Regions from separate parts of the Homo sapiens genome. Here region 2 is linked to region 1. The links are contacts of gene promoters, found by promoter capture Hi-C in human tissues and cell types (Jung and others, 2019). All regions are on one chromosome and are shown on one strand. Each heading gives the region's core, a stretch centred on a gene start or on the middle of the fragment in contact. The rest is flanking DNA. Distances are from core to core; before and after follow the strand shown. Region 1 holds the start of OTOR (otoraplin). Region 2 has its middle 33 kb from the start of SNRPB2.

The links. The method cuts DNA at HindIII sites, captures the fragments that hold promoters and counts their contacts. A contact is called where the count stands out against the background at its distance.
Region 2: a contact is called between a fragment that was not itself captured here and the fragment with the promoter of OTOR in region 1, in 1 of the 25 tissues and cell types used here (H1 embryonic stem cells).

What each region holds. Positions count from the first base shown.
Region 1 is chr20:16,743,816-16,750,616 of GRCh38, forward strand. It overlaps OTOR (otoraplin), which reads left to right and starts at 4,543. Exons shown (of 4, transcript NM_020157.4): 1 at 4,543-4,701; 2 at 5,052-5,191; 3 at 6,088-6,195. The coding sequence starts at 4,587. The HindIII fragment of the contact is 9,309 bases long and covers 95-6,801 here.
Region 2 is chr20:16,693,455-16,700,255 of GRCh38, forward strand. No RefSeq gene overlaps it. Among named protein-coding and RNA genes, the nearest start is that of SNRPB2, 33 kb to the right of the region's middle. The HindIII fragment of the contact is 5,333 bases long and covers 1-5,313 here.

The DNA.
Region 1 (6,801 bases), core at 3,293-5,792:
GATTTGGTCAAACCAAGATCTTTTGACCTTCCCTATCTCATCCATCTTTTGGGAGTGTGAGTTTTGAGGAATGATTGAAGGGAGTAGATGTTATTTAATATAGTGGTTCTTAACTTTGGCTGCATATTAGAATCATCTGGGAGCCATTTTCAAATACCCATGCTCAATCTACACCCCAGATCAATTAGTCTCCAGGGATGAAACGTAGTCATCAATATTTTTATAAACCCCCCTCCCCCCCCAGGGTGATTCCCTTGTCACCCAAGATTAAGAACTAACAAAGCAGGTTTCTACTTTCATGAAGTAGGGCATCATAGATCATTGACTCAAATGGTGTTTTTCAAAAGTAGTATATTGATAAATAGAGGATAATGTTAATTCTGGAAATGGTTGTGATGCAGGGCAGGCAAGCCTCAAACTTGGGGCTTAGCCCAGGAGGATTCTTGGCTTCATCCAGGAAAGAATTCAAGGGTGAGCTCATGGTGGTAAACAGCAGTCTTTTGGTAAATAGTGTTGCCCCTTGCAGAGCAGGGCTAATTCATACACGGTGTGCCCAGAGTTGGCAAAGTATTGGCTCTTGGCAACTGCATTTATACCCAGTTAAACTCACTTTCGGTCACATGCAAATTAAGGGGAGGCTCAATACAAATTGAGGGGCAGATTATTTAGAACTTTCTAGGAAAGGAGTGGTAACTTCTGGGTCATTGCCATGGAAAGGGGTGGTAATTTCCAGGTTGTTGCCATGGCATTTGTAACTGTCATGGCACTATGGGAGTGGCTTATGCTAATAAACAATGAAGACAGCTGAGGATCGCTTTTCTTGACATCTCCTTGTCCCTGCTGGTTTCTTCACTTTTTACTGCCTGGACCAGATCCTGTTCTGGTCAGCAGGGTGGTGACCAGAAAACAAGTTCTTCTGGTCTCCTACCTCAGTTGCAAGAAACTCAAAACTCCATTTTAAACTTTAAGCCTTATAGTATCTTCTGTTTGAGTATTTAACAAGCATTTGTTTTTCCTTGAAAATATATCCAGCCAAGACCTTATGAAGAATGTGAGCTAAAATTACGGTATTTTACTTGCCTGGAAACAGTACTTCTCAAATGTTAATGTGCATACAGGTGACTTGAGTATCTCATTAAAACGTAGATTTAGATTGTGTCTCCGGGGTGAGGTCTGAGAAACTTCATTTCTATAAAGTGATGTCAAAGTTACTGGTCTGGGGACCATGTTTTGGTGGCAAGTTGCAAGACCCCAGAGTTTCTACCCTAATGATTTATTCAATGACTCTTAGAGGTGTTATCAATCTGTTTTTAAAGCCAGGGACTTTGCCCAGGGGAAAAATGCATGCATACACACACACACACACACACACACACACACACACCCCTATGCGTACAATTTCGGAGCAATTGTGCATTCATTCAGTGAATACCTATTTAATGCACACCAAGTATCTTTCCGGGTGCTAATGACAGAGTGAGGAACAAGATAGCAAAGATGCCTGCCTTGTGGAGCTTTCATTATACTGTTGGTTGGAAGACAAACTAAGTAAATAAAGCAGGCATGTCAGCTATGATACATGCCTTAGGACAGTGTACTGCAGCCACGTGATACAGGGATTGGGTGGAGGAAGGTTTGAAGTGGCTCTTTTAAATTGTTCTGTCTGTGGAGGCATCTTGGCCAGGAACCTGAATGCCAGTATCTGGGGAAAAGCATCCTAGGTGGTAAGTTCGGAGCACCTGAAGCAGAAATGAGTTTAGTGTTTTCAAAAGTTAGAGAGAACTGGTATGGGAGGAACAGAGCGAGTGGAGGAGAGAGCAAAAGGTGAAATCCCAGAGGTAGAAGGGCCTGATCCTACAGGAGCTTGTAGGCCATGACAAGGAGGCTGCCTGCACTTGACCGAGCCCATGCTTAGATCCTAAAGGAGCCATGGCCTCCATTTAAGAACTCCAGACAGAGAATCTAATTTAGGAACTGAAGGGGAAAAATGTCATTTAGGGATTGAATGTTTGGAGAATACGTCTGAAAATCTAGAGGAACGAGTATGAAAACTGGGGCCAGAACCCTCACTGAACCCCCAGTGGCCCCAGTGTCTTTGGCATAACTGCCAGACACAGCTACTTGCTGAATTATTGCAAGTTCAAATTCCTATTTGCATGCAATTTTACCAAGAAGCCTCTAGCTTCTGTCCTGTGTCTGCCACTTTAGAATGCCAGAACACCACAAGCTTTCCCAGGCTGCACTCAGAAGGCTTGGTTATCTCATTACTTTATTTCTTCACCTTCAAATGTCCAATAATGGCTTCACGTTAGCATTAGCCTGATTTTCTAAGTTGTGATAGCTTGAATGTCACATTTTGCTTTTTGTTTTTAATCATTTTATCCTGCTTTTGGGGATCTGTATATGCTCCCCAATGGGGAGTTTTTGCAGTCCCCATTTCTTCAAGTGCCTCTTAAATGACAATTGTCTTTTAACTCTCCTATGCTGAGGGCTGGTTTGAGACTGGAACAGTCCATAAAACAGCTGCGCAATCAGGATTAAGAAGATTTAATCAATGCTTTAGTTTTCCCAGAAATTTAGACCTTTAGATTGATTACAGGGGAAAAATTGGAAAGGCATTCTGCTTTCAAAAATAATATCGAATTCAATCTTTCCTTGATGTGAAACAGGAAATAAATGATTTATTCTAATTTGTCAATTCCAAGTTGACAACAATGAATTGAAATAGCATTGAACCATGATCCCTCTGGTAACCTTTAGATAGGATGGTTCAAAATGACCACTTTAGGACAGGTGCGGTGGCTCATGCCTGTAATCCCAGCATTCTGGGAGGCTGAGGAGGGCGGATCACTTGAGGTCAGGAGTTTGAGACCAGGCTGGCCAATATGGTGAAACCCCGTCTCTACTAAAAATACAAAAATTAGCTGGGCATGGTGGTGCACACCTGCCAGCCCAGCTACTTGGGAGGCTGAGGCAGCAGAATTGCTTGAACCCTGGAGACAGAGGGTGCAGTGAGCCGAGATTGCACCAGTGCACTCCATCCTGGGTGACAGAGCAATACTCCATCTCGGAAAAAAAAAAAAAAAAAAAAAGCAACAAAAAACAAAAAGACCACTCTGGCATTTGCTGTGCCTCAGTTTCCTTGTCTATAATGAAGGTATGAATAAAACAGACTTTCCAATCAGGACCAGCTATATAAAAGATCCTCCCTTGAAAGTCACACACACATACACACACAGCCACACACACACACTCACACACAGCCACACATACCCACACCCATACCCACACCAAAACTCTTTTACATACACACACAGATGCACTCAAACCAATACAACTCTATCACACACACACATATACCCAAAACAAAAAACCTTTTTATTATATTTTGCCTTACCCATTTATCCCTTGGGAAATTGTATTGCACAAAATTATTTAGTAAGTTAAATTCTTGTCCCTCATTTTATGAGGTTACGACTTTGGGGTTGGGGGAGAAGGCACTGCTCCGAAGTCACATCATCAACCAAGGTGGAGAAGGCATCCTGAGAGGATCTCTATTCTAGAAGCAATGGATAAGAACAGGGGAAGGGCCACCTTATGGGAGAGATGCCAGCCTCAAACACCCTATAAAAAGCAGTAACTTACTGTCTGTCTCTTCTAATAGAAAGCAACACTTGGGGCCAAAATATTTTTTTTAAATTTACTGCTATATCTTTAGTGCCCAGAACTATACCTGGCACAGTAAGTGCTCAGTAAATATTTGCTGAATAGACGGAGCTAGGGACTGGCGGTTCCACTTTGGTGCCTCTAGGAGTGCTCCTCTCCCCATGGGAAACATGCTCAGAAGCAGGAAGTTCCAGGTAACATAAACTTGTAACTTCACTCTCTTCTCTTTGACCTGTCACCCTTGAGCATTTGAGACTGAATTGCAAAAGTCTTAGAGAGAAGAGGTAGGGGAAAGATTGACCTATTTTTCCCAACCCACCCATCTCTTTCCCCACTGGTAGGGTCTAAATGGGGCATCAATTAGTATGTTAGAATTCATCTCTAGCCTGGGACAGGCATGCCTTCTAAGAATCCTATCATGAAAGATTTGTAAGCATAAGAATCTTTCATTTATCTATTACGTAAATCCAGATTTATTAATTGAATTTGTTTAAATCAAATTATTTGTGCTATAGATCTCACATTTTCAACAAATTCCTACAACTAGTATGTCTTTGCTCATAAGCTGAAGGAAAATTAGGGGTGAATTAAAACTAAAAATGGTTTGAAATTCTCATAGTCCTCTCAGCAAAGCCCTACTGATTGATACAATAGACCACTGCTAAAGCGGCTTTAACAATAGTGGACCATTTTGGATATTATCTGTGTATAGAAAGACACAGAGTTTGACTCTGTTTGGAAAATCAGACGCTAAATAGCCCCTGAAGCCGAGCAGCCTGTTATGAAAACGGAGGGGTGGTAGGCCCTTCTAATTGGCCAGGGTATTTACCCAGAGCTCTGGCTTTCACATAAAAGGCAGGAACCACTGAAGTCAGTCCCCGCTTCCAGTCAGAGTTCAAGTTAAAACAGAAAAAAGGAAGATGGCAAGAATATTGTTACTTTTCCTCCCGGGTCTTGTGGCTGTATGTGCTGTGCATGGAATATTTATGGACCGTCTAGCTTCCAAGAAGCTCTGTGCAGATGATGAGTGTGTCTGTAAGGACTTTTTTATGCTTTTCATTATCTTTCTATTACATAATTGAAAATATATCCACTAATAGCATAAAATCGAATTATACTTTGAAGTGAATCTTCTCCAATGTGTATGTTATCAGCTTTGTTTCTTCTGGTCTGCATGTTTGGTATCTTACTACGGAGAATTCACTTGGCTGAGTTTTGTTGCAGCTTTAATATCTTGGCTGTCTTCTTTCTCTTGGATAGACACCAGCTATGAACTGGGAATTATCAGTCACTCTGATTTTCTAGTTTTTCTAATATACATTGCCTTTTACTGTTATAAAATTCAGGAGCCTAAAATGTAATCATTTAAATTTTTTTTCTTCCAGATACTATTTCTCTGGCTAGTGCTCAAGAAGATTATAATGCCCCGGACTGTAGATTCATTAACGTTAAAAAAGGGCAGCAGATCTATGTGTACTCAAAGCTGGTAAAAGAAAATGGAGCTGGAGAATTTTGGGCTGGCAGTGTAAGATAATTTAAACACCTATTGACGAATATTGCTCTTAACCTTTCCTTGATTACCTACCTTCAACCTATTTTAATGCTTAATACTAGTTGTTAAGAACCATGTAGTGATTGTAGATGGAAATGCAAAAATTCAGGTATATTTGCTATTGCATTTTAAAGAAAGAAAGATCAATTTCGTAACAAAACCAAATGTAGGTTAATGTGATATTTTGGTAAAAAAAGAGTCAAATACATGGGGGCTTAAACATCCCAAAGAATTTGAATCTTATCCGAAAACGTCTGAGAAGATTTGCCAAGTAGAAGGCATGTGTGTTGGCAGTGAGTCTAAGTATCAATATTCTTTTAGGAAACTTTGCACCCTAATTAATTCGAAAGAATCAGCGTTCTTCAGTTAAAATATACAGGGGCGGTCCCTGGGGAGGGATGAAGCAGGGATGATTTTCTGTCCTCATCTGCAACCCTAAAGGTAAGTTCTAAATTAATGAAGGATTAAATTTAAAGCCATTTAAGTCTGTTCATTTGAATTGTTGAAAACTGAGAAATTTGCATCATTTAAAATAAGTGTCTACAGTACTTTAAAAAAATGTACTGTCTTTATATATTTATTTATGGGTTCAAAAAAGATTTCAGGCAACTCACAAGATTGCGTAAAATAAAGTCATGCTAAAGTAGCGAAATAAGACTGGGCCACTAAACAGTAGATGCACAATTCCTGCGGGTTAACTTAGTGCTCCAAGTAAACTTCGGATTTGCCGCAGCGCCCCCTGGACCCCGGAGTGAAAGGGAGGTATTGGCAGCTATGATTCTCACTATCAGCAAAGAGGACGCCTGCGAGTTTCTCAGAAGACACTCAGCATCAGCTTTTTCCTGATTGCTATTCTTCTGGGCACTTAGGTTTATGGTGATGGCCAGGACGAGATGGGAGTCGTGGGTTATTTCCCCAGGAACTTGGTCAAGGAACAGCGTGTGTACCAGGAAGCTACCAAGGAAGTTCCCACCACGGTAAGCATCTCAAAAGTGACTAGACAAGGACTCAGATCTTGGGGCAATGTAGGCCGGTGTTAAAAATGCATCATGCAACTTACAAGTTGTATAGAACAAAGCCTCCAACTTTCAGTGGCGACTTTTCTGAGATAATGAGGTTTGGGGGACCATTTATAACTACTGTCAAAGTTGAAAGATGAGTAAACTTTCTCTATACCACCCCCTTTTGTTTTATTTCAGTTTACTACTTTTTGTCTCATCTTTTTTCTATATTTTTTCAGCTTTATTGGGTTATAATTGACAAATAAAAATTGCATACATTTAATGCATACATTATGTTTTGATATACATTGTGAAATGATCATCACATTCAAGCTAGTTAACACATACATCACCTCACATAGTTACCTTTGTGTGTGTGTGTGTGTGTGTGTGTGAAAACATTAAGATCTGCCCTCTTAGTAAATTTCAAGTATACAATACAGTACCTCTTTTGTTTTAGATGCAAGTTGTCTTGCAAAGCAGTCTATGTAACAAATAAAGAAACCAAAGTCAGCACTGACTCTTACAGATGGTTTTCACTAAAGATAGGCTGAAAAAAAATTATTATGTTTTTGATCAAAT
Region 2 (6,801 bases), core at 1,397-3,896, 52 kb before region 1:
CATGCTTGTCTCACAATAAATATTTGACTCAACACTTGAAAAATCCCACAAACATTAACACAAACTTACATTTCTTTCCTTTGAAGCACTTATTTCCATAAGCACTTGCATAGCACTTATTTTTAATATTACTCCATGTTAAACATGGACTAGGCTTACATGAATCATACCCTTTCTTGAATATAAACTGTCAGTATCTGACAGTTTAATATATGAATTTCCTTTTCTCCAATTAAATTTCCCCAGCGCTCCATAAATTCTGGAAATTTTCCTCTTTGGTAACTTCTTCAGTGTCCAGTAGGGTCACCAACTGTCCCAGTTTGCCTAAGACTGAGGAATTTCATGGGATACAGATGTTCAATACCAATGCCAGGACAGTTCCAGGCAAACTGGGACAGTTGGTCACCCAGGTGCCCAGCACAAAGCTGTATTCCTGGTTTGAATTGAATGGAATATTAAAGTTGCGAAGATGTGTTTCAATCACAGCCCTTAACATAGTCACTTGAGAATTGCAGGTACTCCATAAATAATTTTATGACAAAAATGAAGGGTAACAAATTCTGGATATACTTTCTTATGTTCAAATAGCAAACTAAGCAAGTGAATTTTTTTAAGGAACCGTGTGATGTCAGCACATCTCTTTTCTTATATTTCCATGTCTAGTTTGAATGATATTTCTGTTAAGAGTAAAGAAAAATTATGTATTGCTGATCTTGGATAGAGTAGGCCTTAATAGCAGGAGTTCACAGATGCATGGCTGTGCACGCACATCCAAATACACTGTCAAATTATGGACTTCTCAAAAGCTTCCACTGACTTAAGATAGCTATTCTAAAGTTCAAATGCCTATTTTTAAACTTTCTGATGCTCTCTTTCATTCCTTGAAATAACCACAACCTTCTGTGTCTCTGGGGAACATGGCCAAGCTCTTGCTGTGTGGATTTTCCAAGCCTCCGCTCTTACAAGCAGGGCCAGGGCTTTGATTTTGATCTGTGGCTTTGGGGCGGAGGACTCACTCCCTATTGTGTCTTGAGCCTTTGAATGCTTCAGTCACTACAGCATATTGATTTTCTCAACTTCTTCAAATGAGAAAGTGCCTTTGGAATAGCAATAAGGTAGCTCTTTACACACCTCCTGAATAACAATCTCCTTCTGTATCTGTGTGTAGAATAGCCATGCCTCCTTGACTGTTTGTCATTACAACAGGCAGCTTTGCTGTAGTTCACATCACTGTCACCTGGCAAACTTCATGATGCCCTCAGGTTGCCCACACTTTACCCAATAGATATGTTTTTGAAAAGCTGAGGGTTAAACTAATTTATGCAAATCAAATGCTTCTGGTCATATATCTGCGTGGATGTTGTAAAAGAGAACTCATGCAAGGTGGAGAGGGATCCATCCAAGTGATTCACCCCTCTCCCCAGCGGCTGAGATCCTGTGACTCTAGGTTCATTTAATTCTATATTTTATTGATAATTTTAGATATTTTTCATTTTCACTCCTGAGTGATCTTCAATTAGCAATCGTTCCTATAATTTTATTTTTAGTTTAGATTTATTCCTAGGGTTTAGATTTATTTCTAGGGCAATGCCTAGAAGAGGGCCACAGTTCGCAAGGGTGTCATTCACACATACGGATGGAAATACCTTGAGTGTATTGCCTGCCATGAAGTTGGTAGAAGCAGAAGCATCTTCCTTGAGTCTTCTTGACCCATTCTTACTGTCTATGAACATAAATATAGATTTGGATAAGGGAATGAGAAGAAAATCAGGGCACCTTTGGCCCAGGCCATGCACAAGGTACAGTCATAGTGGAATTTGCAAGCAAAATGGGTCCAAGGAGTTGAACCGAGAATAAAATCAAGACCAATTAAAGAGACCACAGGTTTTCAGTTTGGCATTTAAGCATTTGTAATCATCATGCCAACCTTCCTTTGAGATCAGTGGATGTCCAGGGTATACCCCAAACTAAATGAGCCAGAATCACTGGGGTGGGACCCAGATATCAGTATTTTAAAAAATTACCCAGGTGTGCAGGCAAGTCTGAGAATCACTTCTGAGTAAAAGATGGTAAAATAGTCTCAGTTTCTGGAGAAAAGGCCAGCGTACTCTGTGGTACAGTGGAAAGACTATTGGAAAGACTGTAGAGATAGCTGCCAGTAATGGGATTTTCTTTTGGGTTTGGTGCTTTATTTCTACTCCTCACAACAATGGCATGAGATAGATATTCACATTAGGTCCAATTTATGTACCTTTTCACATTTCCTCAGTTTCAAATTTCTCTCCCTGGAGAATCATGCTGCCATAACCATTAACTTATCTTTTGTTAATCCACGAATGTGTTCTTGCCAACTCATCAAGGTTGCCCTACCCTGGGCGTGTGAAGATAGTGTGTTCCACACCATGGACTTGGGATTGTGACCTTAACTCTTTGCTGCTGCTGTGCATCCTCTGTGATTGAATGACTGGCTGTGTCCTTTTGTGGTCTGCTCATTAATTCACCCCCTTGTATTTGCTCTCCTTCTATGCCTCTCTCACTTTTTTTTCCTCCTCACTCTTACGGCCCTGGGATTGGAACCCACAGTAAAATGTTAAAAGGAATATTTGTCACATGTTTGATTTTTGAAAGGGCCCAAGCTAAGACAGTATTATTATCCAATAAATACTCATCTGTCAATTTCCAAAGTGCATATCCTTTTTATTATTTTCCTTCTTTGCTTTTTATTATTTTCCTTCTTTGCTGCCTTCTAGGAAAGAGAACTGGATCCTGACTTCTGCTTTGCCACTAACTTGTAATATAATCTTATGCAAGTCATTTTTCTTCCCTAAACCTCAGTTTTCTCATCTATAAAATGAGAAGGTTAGACTCTCAGATAGTCTGAAATTTTTGGATTCTATGATTCTATGGACACTTTGAACAGTTGAATGAAGCCTATGGATCTTTTTTCACAATTATGTTTTAAAATGCACTGAAATACACTTGTTAAGATATTATATAGGTAAGTGTATATCATAAAATGTTTTCTATTTCAAGCTAGACAACACCTAGCATAAAATATTTTTGGTATGGTAATATATGTACTTCTTTACTCATATATTAAATAGCCACTTATTTAATAACTATGATAATGTTCTGTAGTGATGAGAATAAATGATATTTCAAGATGACGATAAGAAAGCAGCCCTGAAAGCAGCTAGGCTGTAATGATCCAGTTGAAATAAACAAGACTCACAAAATATAAATGATGATCAGATAAGTTCACTGTGTGACCATAATTACAGAAGATAAAGACAAGGATACTTTCTAGAGCCACAAAACACCTTCCTCTTACAATGGACGCAAGTGACTGCTGCTTCTTGATCAGTTACAGCCCTCACCTTGCTTTAATAAAAATTACCTAGATACCCAATCACTGAATTATTTCTCTTTACAGTACCCAGTTCAAAACCTGTCCCTGTCCCACTCCTTAAGACCTCCTAGAAGCACTCACAAGAAGCACAGTCCCACAAGAATCCTTCTCTAACTCCTGCTTGTCCTGACATCCCACGGCTCCCCTGGCTTGGTCTGCCCTTCAGTGCAGCCATCTAAATACAACTAAACATTTGGACCATGGTTGTGTTCCTGGTGGGCTTTAATTTCTGCAACAACCATAATGTGATGTGAGAATACCTGATTGATTTCTACCAAGGACAATATAATTGTGGAGGCGAGATTAAAATCTAAGCACTCCAGCTTTAGAGATTGAACTCTTAATCCTCTGTGCTCCCCAGCCTCTAGGCATACAAAACTTTAAAAATACACAAAACATAAATAATCACAACCAGTGATGAACTATTCCATACACAACATCCGTAAAGGCATGCTTGAGTTAGGGGAGAGATCTTAATTGGGACCAAAATAACAACCACAAAAACCAGTCATGGTAGAAAAGGAAATAATGCAGCTATATCAATAACAACAATAACATTTTCCATTTGTATAGTCCTTTCTACATTACTGAACCCTCTGTATATGAGTCTCAGCATAGTGAGGGCAGACCCTCCATCCAGGTTTTCTGGGGCATAGCCTAAGTCATTCTTTTACCTACAGGATCTAACGTAATAATTCCCATAGAGAGAAGACGGCTTCTTCTCAGCTCATTGTTGAAGCTTCACTATTTAGATTTATATTCAGCCAATATTTACTAAGTGCTATTATGGACTAAATTGTGTACCCCTCCCCTGGCAACAAATTCATATGTTGAAGCCCCAACTCCTGATATGTATTTGGAGGAAGAGACACCAAGGATGCACACATAGAGAAAAGGCCATGTGAGGATACAGCAAGAAGGTGGCCATCTGCAAGCCAAGGAGAGAGACCTTAGGTGCAATCGATCTGCCAGCATCTTGATCTTGGACTTCCAGATCCAAGCATTTCTCAGAACTATCAAAAATACATTTCCGTTAAGTCATCCAGTCTGGTAGTTTGTTATGGCAGCACGAGCAAACTAATACAAATGACTAATGAAAGTGCTAATAATTTTACAAGTTACTTCTTTGAACTATTGAAACTGACCCCGTTTTCTCATAGACAGTTTTTGTTGTTGCTGTTGTTGTTGTTGTTTTTGGATAAGCATAGAAATTGATCCTCCTCGTCTTAAACCTGAAACTTACAATTACTTGTCTTGTCTGAGCTTCTTCCTCTGGAAACCAACCCTCATGCCTCCCAGATGGTATCAAGGAACTGAAACTCCTTTTCCTTAATTCCTGTTTTCCCAGACATTTCTGCATTCCTTCTCTGCTACATAAATCCCCAGTTTTAGTCAGTTAGGGAGATGGATTTGAGAGTTATCTCCCATCTCCTCAGCTGCAGCACAGGAATAAAAAGCCTTCCTCCCTGACAATACTCGTGATCTCAGAGACTGGCTTTCTGTGTGGCAAGCAAGCAGACCTAGACCGAACCCCTGGCATTTTGGTAACACCACTGCAACCAGAGTATAGTCAAACCAGTTTCTACTGGCTTGTGAGAGCCACTTTTTAAATTTAAAAAAAATTTTTAAAAATAGAGACAGGGTCTCACTGTGTTGCCCAGGCTGTCCTTAAACTCCTGGGTTCAAGCGATTCTTCTTCCTCAGCTTCCCAAAATGCTAGGATTATAGGCATGAGCTACCACACTCAGCCTTTTTTAGGAATCTTGTGAGCTGGTTTTTAAAGCAGCCATTAGGAAAAAAACTACCTAAACTTACAATCAAGTAAGTTATATTAAAAACAAAAGTAAGGCTGGCACAGTGGCTCACGTCTGTAATCCCAGAACTTTGGGAGGCTGAGGTGGGTGGATCACGAGGTCAGGAGTTCGAGACCAGCTTGGCCAACATGGTGAAACCCTGCCTCTACTAAAAATAAAAAAATTAGCTGGGCATGGTGGTGCATGCCTATAATCCTAGCTACTCAGGAGGCTGAGGCAGAAGAATCGCTTAAACCCAGGAGGTAGAGGTTGCAGTGAGCTGAGATTGCACCACTGCACTCCAGTCTGGGGAACAGAGTGAGATTCTGTCTCAGAAAAAAAAAAAAAAGTGATAAATACTCAAAACTCACCACTTCCTAATTGTTTTACTACATTTTGTATTTTACATATTTGTATTTTTATCTATGTTTATATTTTACTACATTTTACATTTTTTATTCTGCATGTGCTTGAAGTTATTTATGTCTATTGTGTCTGAAATACTACATAGTGATGTGCTACTGTGCACCTCTTCTCAACTCTGTGTTCAATAATATCGGGTGAGTGGTTTGAAACAGGCCATGGTGGGAGTATTTACACCATGGAAATGGACAAACAGTACAAATCAGGTTTTGTTTTGTGTTGTTTTTCCCCAGAGAGCTATTGTTAAACACTTACAGCATGTTCTTGACCCTAACAATCTCACAAGAGAGACGGTGTAATTCCAGATTTACAAATGAGGAAACTCCAGCCCTAAAACTCAAGACTCGGGCGCAAACTGGGGTCTCTTGGCTCCTGGACTAGGGCCTTTTGCATGATACCACACTGCCTCTCCATGCATACATGAGGAAATGCTGTTGCTCTATTTATAGCTCAGCCTGGCTGCCCAGAAGAATCAGATTAAAAGGGGCCTATGCATTTGGTGAGGGTCTTGCCCTGCCTCTTAAATTTCTCTGCCCAGCACAGGCGTTGTGTCATTCTAATAACCAATAGGATGAAGGCCACTTGCTATAAATTCCAGGGCACTGGGAAAAAGCCATGGGAGGAACACTCTTTTATAACCACAATTTGCAGTCTATTATAAAGTACTTTAATTGCTACTCAGTGTACGATTTTTCTGCGTGTTTTTCCAGCATGGTGAAAATTAATAAGGAGAGGGGTGCCGAGTCCACCCTGCTGGGTTGTGGGAAGCAGAAGCCCTGACCATTCAGAGATGGATTTACAGAAGCAGGAACTGAAGACAAAGCAGGAGGTCTTCAAAATAACTCTCAGAGAAGCTTCTTTGATGAGCTGAGGCAATTCAGCAACTTCGGCACTGCGCACTCGTGCTCATAAATCGCCAGTATTTGCAGGCGTTGCAAGATGTCTCCCAATATGCAGTTAAAAAAACATTCTCACTGCAGTAGCACTAAAGATCTACTGCCAGTTATTTTGCTTCAGTACCTTGCATCTTAAGGGACAATTTGATTTTTGCAGTTGATTATTGGGTGCACACAGGTTTAAAAAGGCTAAATATTGAACTACTCCAAAAAGAATCTTAGGAAAGTCATTTCCCTATTCGAGAAACCTTTGAAGACTAAAATATGTTCTTTAACCTCT